Regions from separate parts of the Homo sapiens genome. Here region 1 is linked to region 2. The links are contacts of gene promoters, found by promoter capture Hi-C in human tissues and cell types (Jung and others, 2019). All regions are on one chromosome and are shown on one strand. The core of a region is centred on a gene start or on the middle of the fragment in contact, and the rest is flanking DNA. Distances in the headings are between cores, read along the strand shown. Region 1 overlaps PLAAT1 (phospholipase A and acyltransferase 1). Region 2 holds the start of MB21D2 (Mab-21 domain containing 2).

The links. The method cuts DNA at HindIII sites, captures the fragments that hold promoters and counts their contacts. A contact is called where the count stands out against the background at its distance.
Region 1: a fragment that was not itself captured here is called in contact with the fragment with the promoter of MB21D2 in region 2 in 1 of the 25 tissues and cell types used here (dorsolateral prefrontal cortex).

The regions. Positions count from the first base shown.
Region 1 is chr3:193,245,715-193,249,685 of GRCh38, reverse strand. The region is part of intron 1 of PLAAT1 (phospholipase A and acyltransferase 1); the gene reads right to left. Among named protein-coding and RNA genes, the nearest start is that of MGC2889, 5.9 kb to the right of the region's middle. The HindIII fragment of the contact is 3,416 bases long and covers 1-3,264 here.
Region 2 is chr3:192,916,473-192,920,895 of GRCh38, reverse strand. MB21D2 (Mab-21 domain containing 2) reads left to right here and starts at 3,040. Exons shown (of 2, transcript NM_178496.4): 1 at 3,040-3,266. The coding sequence starts at 3,056. RefSeq lists a silencer at 2,735-3,094 and an enhancer at 3,745-4,074. The HindIII fragment of the contact is 14,649 bases long and covers 1-4,423 here.

The DNA of each region.
Region 1 (3,971 bases), core at 307-2,806, 330 kb before region 2:
AAAAAGAGTGAAACAGCCTAACAGCCTTAGTGGACAGCATTAAACAGAATATGTGAATTATTGTTGTACAAGAAAGGGAAGAGAGAAAGGGACAGAAAATATATTCAAAGACATATAGCAAGTCCTCATTTAATGTCACTGATAGATCCTTGGAAACTGACTTAAAGCAAAACAACATATAATGAAAGGAATTTTTTTCTCATCAACATAATGAAATGACATTGAGTAAAATGATGTTATTCAAAAGCCGCTATAAATCATTTTGGTTAAAGTTGCAGTTTCCAAGAACCTATGAACATTAAACAAGAATCTACTGCAATTGCGAAAACCTTCCTAAGTGTAGGGAAGGAAACAGAAATCCAGAAGCTTGACAAACATCTAACAGGATGAATCCAAGGCAAACCAAATCAAGATACATTATAATCAAATTGTGGAAAGTTAAAGACAAAGAGAAGATAGGAAAGCTGTAAGGGAAAAGCAACTTGTTACATAAAAGGGGACCCCCATCAGATCTTTCAACAGAAACCCTGCAGGGTAGAAGGGAATAAGATATGGTCAAAGAGCTAAAAGAAAAAAAACCCTGCCAACCAAGAATACTACACTCAGCAATCCTGTCCTTCAAAAAGGAAGAGAAGAAGGGGAGCTTTAAAAAAAACTTTCTCAGATAAACAAAAGCTGAGGGAATTTATCACAACTAGACCTGCCTTACAAGAAATACTAAAATGGGCACTTCACATTGAAGGAAAATATCACTAAGTAGCAACATGGAAATACATAAAAATAAAAACTCACTGGTAAAAGTAAGTATATAGTCAAACACAGAACACTTGTACTGTAATTGTAGTATGAAAATAAATTATATCTCTAATATAAAGGTTAAAAGAAGAAAAACTATTCAAAACACATATAGCAACTATACTTTGCTAATGGACATGCCAAAAACTATTTAAAAATTGTCAATAAAAACAAATTGTTGGAGGGGATAGTAAAAGTTTAGAGTTTGTACAAGTGATCAAAGTGAAGTAATTATAAGCTTAAAATAGCTTGTCATTAGTATAAGACGTTTTATGTAAGCCTCCTAGTAACCACAAAGGAAAAATTCTTAGTAGATACACAAAAGATAAAAAGAAAGAATTCAAAGCATACCACTACAAAAAATCATTAAATTGCAAAGGAAGCAAGCAAGAGAGGAAAACAGAAAACAAAAGATCTACAAATTAACCAGAAAACAACAAAACACCAATAGTAAGTTCTTACCTACCAATAATTACTTTGAATGTAAGTGTATTAAATTCTCCAGTCAAAACATATTGAATGGTTCAATGGATTAAAAAAAAAGACCCAACTATATGCTGCCTACAATAGATTAACTTCACCTCTCTTAACCTTTAAGAACACATATAAGCTGATAATGAAGGGATGAAAAAAGATATTCCACACAAATGGAAACCAACACAAAGTGGGAGTAGCTATACTTCTATCAGACAAAATAGACTGTAAGTGAAAAACTGCAGAAAGATATGAAAAGTTATTATATAATGATGAAGGGGTCAATTCATAAAGAAAATATAACAATTATATATGCACCCAATATCAAAGCACCGAATACATAAAGCAAATATTAATAGATCTGATGAGAGACATGGACTGCAATACAATAATGTCCCGCTTTCAACATTGGACAGATCTAGACCAAAAATCAACAAGGAAATATTGAACTTGAACTATACTTTAAGCCAAATGGACCTAACAAATATTTACAGAAAACTTCATCCAACAACAATTGAATATACATTTTTCTCAATTGCACATGGAGTATTCTCCAGGGTAGATCATATGATATATCACAAAGCAAATCTCAACAAATTTAAGAAGACTGAAATCTTATCAAGTATTTCTTCTGACCACAATGGCACAAACCTAGAAATCAATAACAGGAGGAATCTTGGAAAACTCTATGTGGAAATTAAATAACATGCCCTTCAACAACCAATGAGTCAAATAAAAAATTAAAAGGAAAATTTAAAAATATCTTGAGACAAAAAAAAGAGGAAACTGATATTGATGCAGGATTTTTTACTCCTTAGCTCAGCTAGGTCTGGGCTCTTGTCTCATGACCAGGAATAATTAGGCACGCAGACACTTGAAGAGTGACTGGAGTAGAATTTATTAAGCAAAAGGAATGTTCTCAGCAAAGAGAGGGGTCCTGAAAGCAGGTTAGTCATTGCCCCCTCAGAGCTGAATACAAGGGCTTTATATATAACCTGATGAGGCTGAGCTCCCTATCTGTATAAGGCGTGAATTTCTGGTGGCTCCACATATTCCTCCAGTGTGCATGTGGGCCCTTAGTGTGCTGTGGGCATGTTTAGGCAAGCCCCCTGTGCAAGTTCCCTTATCTGCACAAAATATCTGGTGTAAGCACCTGTGGGGTGGGTCAGAGGTTCTCTGGGGATCCTTTACTTACTGTCTGCCTAAAGCAAGCTAACTAACTCCTTTCAACATCCCAGAAATACAAAGGATCATAGAAGACTACTATGAACAGCTAAATACCAAGAAATTGGATAACACAGAAGAAATGGATGAATTCCTAGAAACATGCAACCCAAGACTGAATCAGGAAGAAACAGAAAATCTGAGTAGACCAATAATAAATAAGGAAATTGAATTGTAATAAACAATCTCCCACCAAAGGAAAGCCCAGGACCTGATGGCTTCACAGGTGAATCCCATTAAGTGCTCAAGAAGAAATACCAATCCTTCTCAAGCTCTTCCAAAAAATTATAAAACAGGGACTACCTCAGAGCTTATTTTATGAGGCCAGTATTACCCTGACACCAAAGCCAGGCAAGAACACCCCAAGAAAACTACAGGCCAATATCCCTGATGAACACAAATGCAAAGATCTTTAACAAAATACTAGCAAACTGCATTCAACAGTAAATTTAAACGATCACTCACCATAATCAAGTGGGACTTATCCCAGGGATGCAAGGATGGGTGAACATATATAAATCAATAAATATGGGCCAGGCACTGTGGCTCATGCTTGTAATCCCAGCACTTTGGGAGGCCGAGGCAGATGGATATCTTGAGCCCAGGAGTTCTAGACCAGCCTAGGAAACATGGCTAAACCTCATCTCTACAAAAATACCAAAAGCTAACATGGTGGCATGTGCCTGTGGTCCTAACTACTTGAGAGGCTGAGGTGAGAGGACAGCTTGAGCTCGATGCGGGTGGAGGTTGCAGTGAGTCAAGATCACACCACTGCACTCCAGCTTGGGTGACAGAGTAAGACTCTGTCTCAAAAATAAATAAATAAATACATTAATAAATAAATATACCATATTAACAAAATGAACGACAAAAAGCACACAAGTATCTCAGTAGATGCAGAAAAAACATTTGACAAAATCCAACACCCATTCACGCTACAAAACTCTCAAAAAATAGGCATAGAAAGAATGTACCTTAACACAATAAAGGCCATATATGACAAGCCCACAGACACCATCATGCTCGATGGTAAAAAGTTGAAAGTTTTTCCTGTAAGATTAGAAAGACAACAGTGATTCCCACTCTCACAGCTATTCAACATAGTCTGGAAGTCCTAGCTAGAGCAATTAGGCAAGAAGAAGAAATAAAAGGCATTCATATAGGAATGGAAGAAGTGTATTTCTGTTTGTTGATGACATTAGGATTCTCCTTGCACATGAAATGGGAGAAAACATTTGTAAACTGCACATTTGCTATGGGGCTAACATGAAAAATATATAAGGAATCCATACAACTCAATAGCAAGAAAACAAGTCAATTAAAAACTTGGCAAAGTATCTAAACAGACATTTTACAAAAGAAGAGACACAAATAGCCAAAAGGTAGATGGAAAAAATACTCAACATCTCTAATCATCAGGGAAATGCAAATTAAAGCCACAATGTGGTATCTCCTCATGCTTGTTAGAAGGGCTGTTA
Region 2 (4,423 bases), core at 1,791-4,290:
GAGAGACCACTCACTCATTCAAACCCCCAGGGTCCAGCACTACGGCACAACAGGAATACTTTCTGCTAACAACCTGTTGTTTCTTTATGGATATAAATATCATAAGAAAAGGTAAAATTAAGGGAAGATTAGTGATGCCTCATTCATATGTTTGGAAATTAACAAATAAAAAGTGTTTCGATTTTGTTGTCTGAAGTATTTCTTAACTGTACATGGTTTGGAGGTAACTAGAACCATTCTGCTCTATGGAATGACTGCCTCAGCCAGCTGTCGCACAGGTGCCTGCCATTGATCACTAGTGAAGCACTGACAGATGGGAGTGGATCACTTTGTGCTGGAGTTCCAAACACTTATGTGGCTTCTAGTACTGCCCAGGTAATGTTAATATCCTCTCAGGATGAGAAGTCAGGGCAGCATAGCAGAGCTGCGAAAGCCAGAGCTTGCTTTGTTTGTTTGTTTGTTTGTTTGTTTGGAGATGGAGTCTCACTCTGTCACCCAGGGTGGAGTACAGTGGCGCGATCTCGGCTCACTGCAACTTCCGCCTCCTGGGTTCAAGCAATTCTCCTGCCTCAGCCTCCCAAGTAGCTGGGACTACAGGTGCACGCCGCCACAACTGGCTAATTTTTTGTATGTTTAGTAGAGATGGGATTTCATCGTGTTACCCAGGCTGGTCTCGAACTCCTGAGCTCAGGCAATCTGCCCGCCTCGGCCTCCAAAGTACTGGGATTAGAGGCGTGAACCACCACGCCCTGCCTAAAAACCAGAGTTTTTAAGTCACTTCCTCATCAGTCCACCAGCATTTATCTAGGCATGGATCCTCTCTCTTTCATACTGAGTGGGTGAGGAAGTGTGTTTCAAAGAGAAGGAAACGAAAAGTAAGAGAAATTAACTGGTTATGCCACAATTCTTCACTCATTACTTGATTCAATAAACATAGAGGACCCTTCGGTAGGACCATATGCTGCAGGAAATACAAAGATGAATAAGATGTAGCCCTCATCCCCAAGAATCTTTTAGTCTAAAACTTGCATTAACAATGATGAAGTGGTCAGGTGTGGTGGCTCACGCCTGTAATCCCTTTGAGAGATCTAGATGCAAGGACTGTTTAATCCCAGGAGGTTGAGGTTGCTGTGAGCCACGATTGTGCCACTGCACTCTGGCCTGGGCTACAGAGGAAGACCCTGTTTCAGAAACAAACAAACACACACACACACAACCCAAAACAAAAAGCAATGATGAAGCAAGGTCAAAATTCATTAGCATCATATGAAAGCTTCTGAGAGTAGGTTCTGAGGAAGGAAAAGTTGCCACCAGCTTGAGGGGAGGGTCTCCGGAAAGCTGTAAGAAAAAGGCAGACGCGGATTGGTTTTGGTGTAAACGGAGTAAAGAAGAGAGGAATTCCAGGGGGAGGTCAGTGGTCAGGTCTGTGTTTTCTAAAGATCACTCTGGCAACAAGTTGTTACTAGATTGAGGAACAGTGAAAGAATTAATAACAATAATAGTAGAAGCTGATAATAGCTAAGTACTTATTATGTCAGTCCTTGAACTAAGTGCTTGACCTGTTTTATCTCACGTAATCCTTAAAACAACCTGTGAGACAGGAATTATTATTCCCATTTTATAGGGGAAGGCATGGAAGAGTCCGTACTTCCTTCCATGTCTAACAAAACAATTTGTATTCTTGGCCATGAGAACTCGGGTAAGAAAGTGAAACAGACCTGATCTAAATCAGGGACTGTGGGATAGAGAAGAGAGATTTTGGAGAATTAGGGAGGAAGATAACCTATGTTTCTCACAGCCAATGGGCCTCCTAAGTGTTTGAATGATACACCCCATAAACACTAAAACCACCTCTGAGACTCTATTCTGCCTAAAGGACTATGACTTAGATTGAACCTGCCTTGTCATGTAAGCCTAACTCCATGGTAGGAGCCATGTCTTTTGGTTATCACTGTCACATTCTGTCACTCCATCTGGCAAATGGTGCGTACTCAAATTTTATCTGTTGAATGAGAAAATTTTCATCTTGTCATCCAACATTTCTTGGAACCTGGGGCAATACATTGTTTCCCCTCTCCCACACCCACACTTCAGTTTCCCTATCTTTATATTAGAGTAGGTTGAATCTCATTAACTCATTATATGTTAAGATAAATAAGCTGTTATTCAGGTCATTAATTACCTTGGGCAAAGGTAGGGATATCTAGGGGTTAGTGGGAGTGCCAATACTGGGTTAGATGTGGACCCTCTTTTTTTATACGCTCAATCCTATCATCTTGGCAATCCAAGAGGAAAAGGGTAGAAGACAGGTTTCATATTCCTTAAGGCAGTTTCCTTTACTATTTAAAGGTATTGGAGTTCTTGGGATAGAGAGGTAAACGCGCACAGAGATGTCCTCCCCCAGGACACCGCCCTTAAAATCAAACGGAGGAAGACTTTCTTCTCCTTGAATGCGCTTGGCAAACCCTGCCCAGAAAGGGGATGGGGGGACGGCCGTGGAGGTGGAGAAAGAATGCATCCACACCTCGCGCGTCTTCCCAAGTACGGATTGGCAAGTGGTATATGCGTGCAGACCTCTGTCATTTATTTATTTTCCTTTCCACTGGGTGCGCTGTCCCTTTAAATGGAGACGCTGGTGCTGGCTCCGTAACACCGGAGCCGGCAGCTTGTTGATTTCAGAGCTGGTGAATTTCACATTGTTTCCACTTCACTTTCCTCGCCCGGGGGAGGCTCCAGTTGGCTCTACGACCGCCGTTGCCGCTGCCAGAGAGGGCCAGGGCAGGGCAGGGACGCGCAGCATCGGGGCGGGCGTGGGGCCGGAGAAAAGGGTGTCGGGGCCACACACGCACCCTCGCTGCAGTCCAGCTCCTCCCGAAGCTCGCACGCCCAGAGCGCACGGAGCGGGGGACTGCCCGCCCAGACGCCCGCCCGCCAACCCGCCCACGAGCCGGGGCCAAAGCCTGGGAGCCTGCGAGGGGAGGAGGCCCAGGGGGGCGGGGTGGGGGGCGGGGGTGGGTGCCGCGCTGCCGCGGAGCTGCTACTCGGCGCGTTTTGCATGAAGATGGCGGCTCCCACCGCCAACAAGGCAGCCTCCCTGGGCTGTAACAACAAGCCTGCGTTCCCGGAGCTGGATTTCAGGTCGGGAGCTCGGGTGGAGGAATTGAACAAACTCATCCAAGAATTTACGAAGCACGACCAGCGGGAATACGACGACCAGAGAGCGCTGGAGATTCACACAGCCAAGGATTTCATCTTTTCCATGCTGGGTAAGGAGGAAAAAGGGGGAGGTGTGTGTGCGTGTGTGTGTGTGATGGGAAGCGGAGTAGAAAACCCATTGCCGCTTCTCGACCTCTTCCCTTCTGGGTTGCCTTCCCGAGCCGGTGCCTTGGGTATAAGCCATCTCTGTTCCGCCTCTCTCTTCTTTCTCCGCCGAAAGCCGAGCTGCCTGCCCTCCCCTCCTTACTATACTTTACGCCGGGTCTCCCTTTCCCCCTGTTCGCTTGCTCTTTTGTTAATTTCTCCGCCACCTGGGGCTGGCAGGCAGGTGAGGCGTTCGCGGTGAAGCGTTGCACTGTTGGGGGAAGCCCCTGGAAGCGAGTGCAGTCCAGGTGAGCCCCTGAGGTGCCTTCAGTTGAGGGATTTGGCTGCCGGAGGCAGGGACCTCCGCTTTCCCGACGCCGGCTCTTGGGTGCTCTCCCGAGCTTGGGAGCGGAGACGGCTCAGGGCTCTGGCTTGGCGCCCGAGCGACAAGTTGCTTCTGTCGTCTCGCGGCGCGGCGCTGTCATGCCGAGCCCCCGGTGGCCAAACTTGTTGGGTGTTCCCGAGTAACCCGCTGAAGTAGTCTAGGCGTCCGGAGTTCCTGCAACTTTGATTTGCAAATTGACTTCTCTTATGAAGCGATCGGAAGCATTTCCGGTGCTTCTTCAGGGCTCTCGCTGAGCTCGGAATTCTTAATTCCCAGCTCTTCCGTGACTAGGCGCGGAGCTCTGGCCGCAGAGGAGCGCCGGTTCCCTGCTCTTTGTGTATTGTCTTAGCGCTGGCCGAAAGAGGTGCCCAGAGTTTCCAACCGCGGAGACGTCGGGGGCTAGAAAATGTGTCCCCCACTCCCACCTCCAGCCCCTCACCTACGGCTCCTGAAACATGATTGAATGCTGTGTAAAGGAACATAATTGAGCCAGGCCCGGGAGACCGAGCCCACCCTCCCCAGGTGTCCTGCCGTTGGGATTATTGCTACTGAGGTGTAGTGTGAGTTTGCCAGGCGCCTGGGTTGTAACTTGCGGCTCCGCCAGCGGATCCGTGGCTGTCAAGCGGTGCGTGGCCGGCGGTCAACATTCCGAAGAACTGGTACTCCAGGGTAGCGCTGCTCTAACGCTCGTCTCTGGGTGCTCTCTACAAATAGATAAGCCAATTTTCCAGGTGTTGA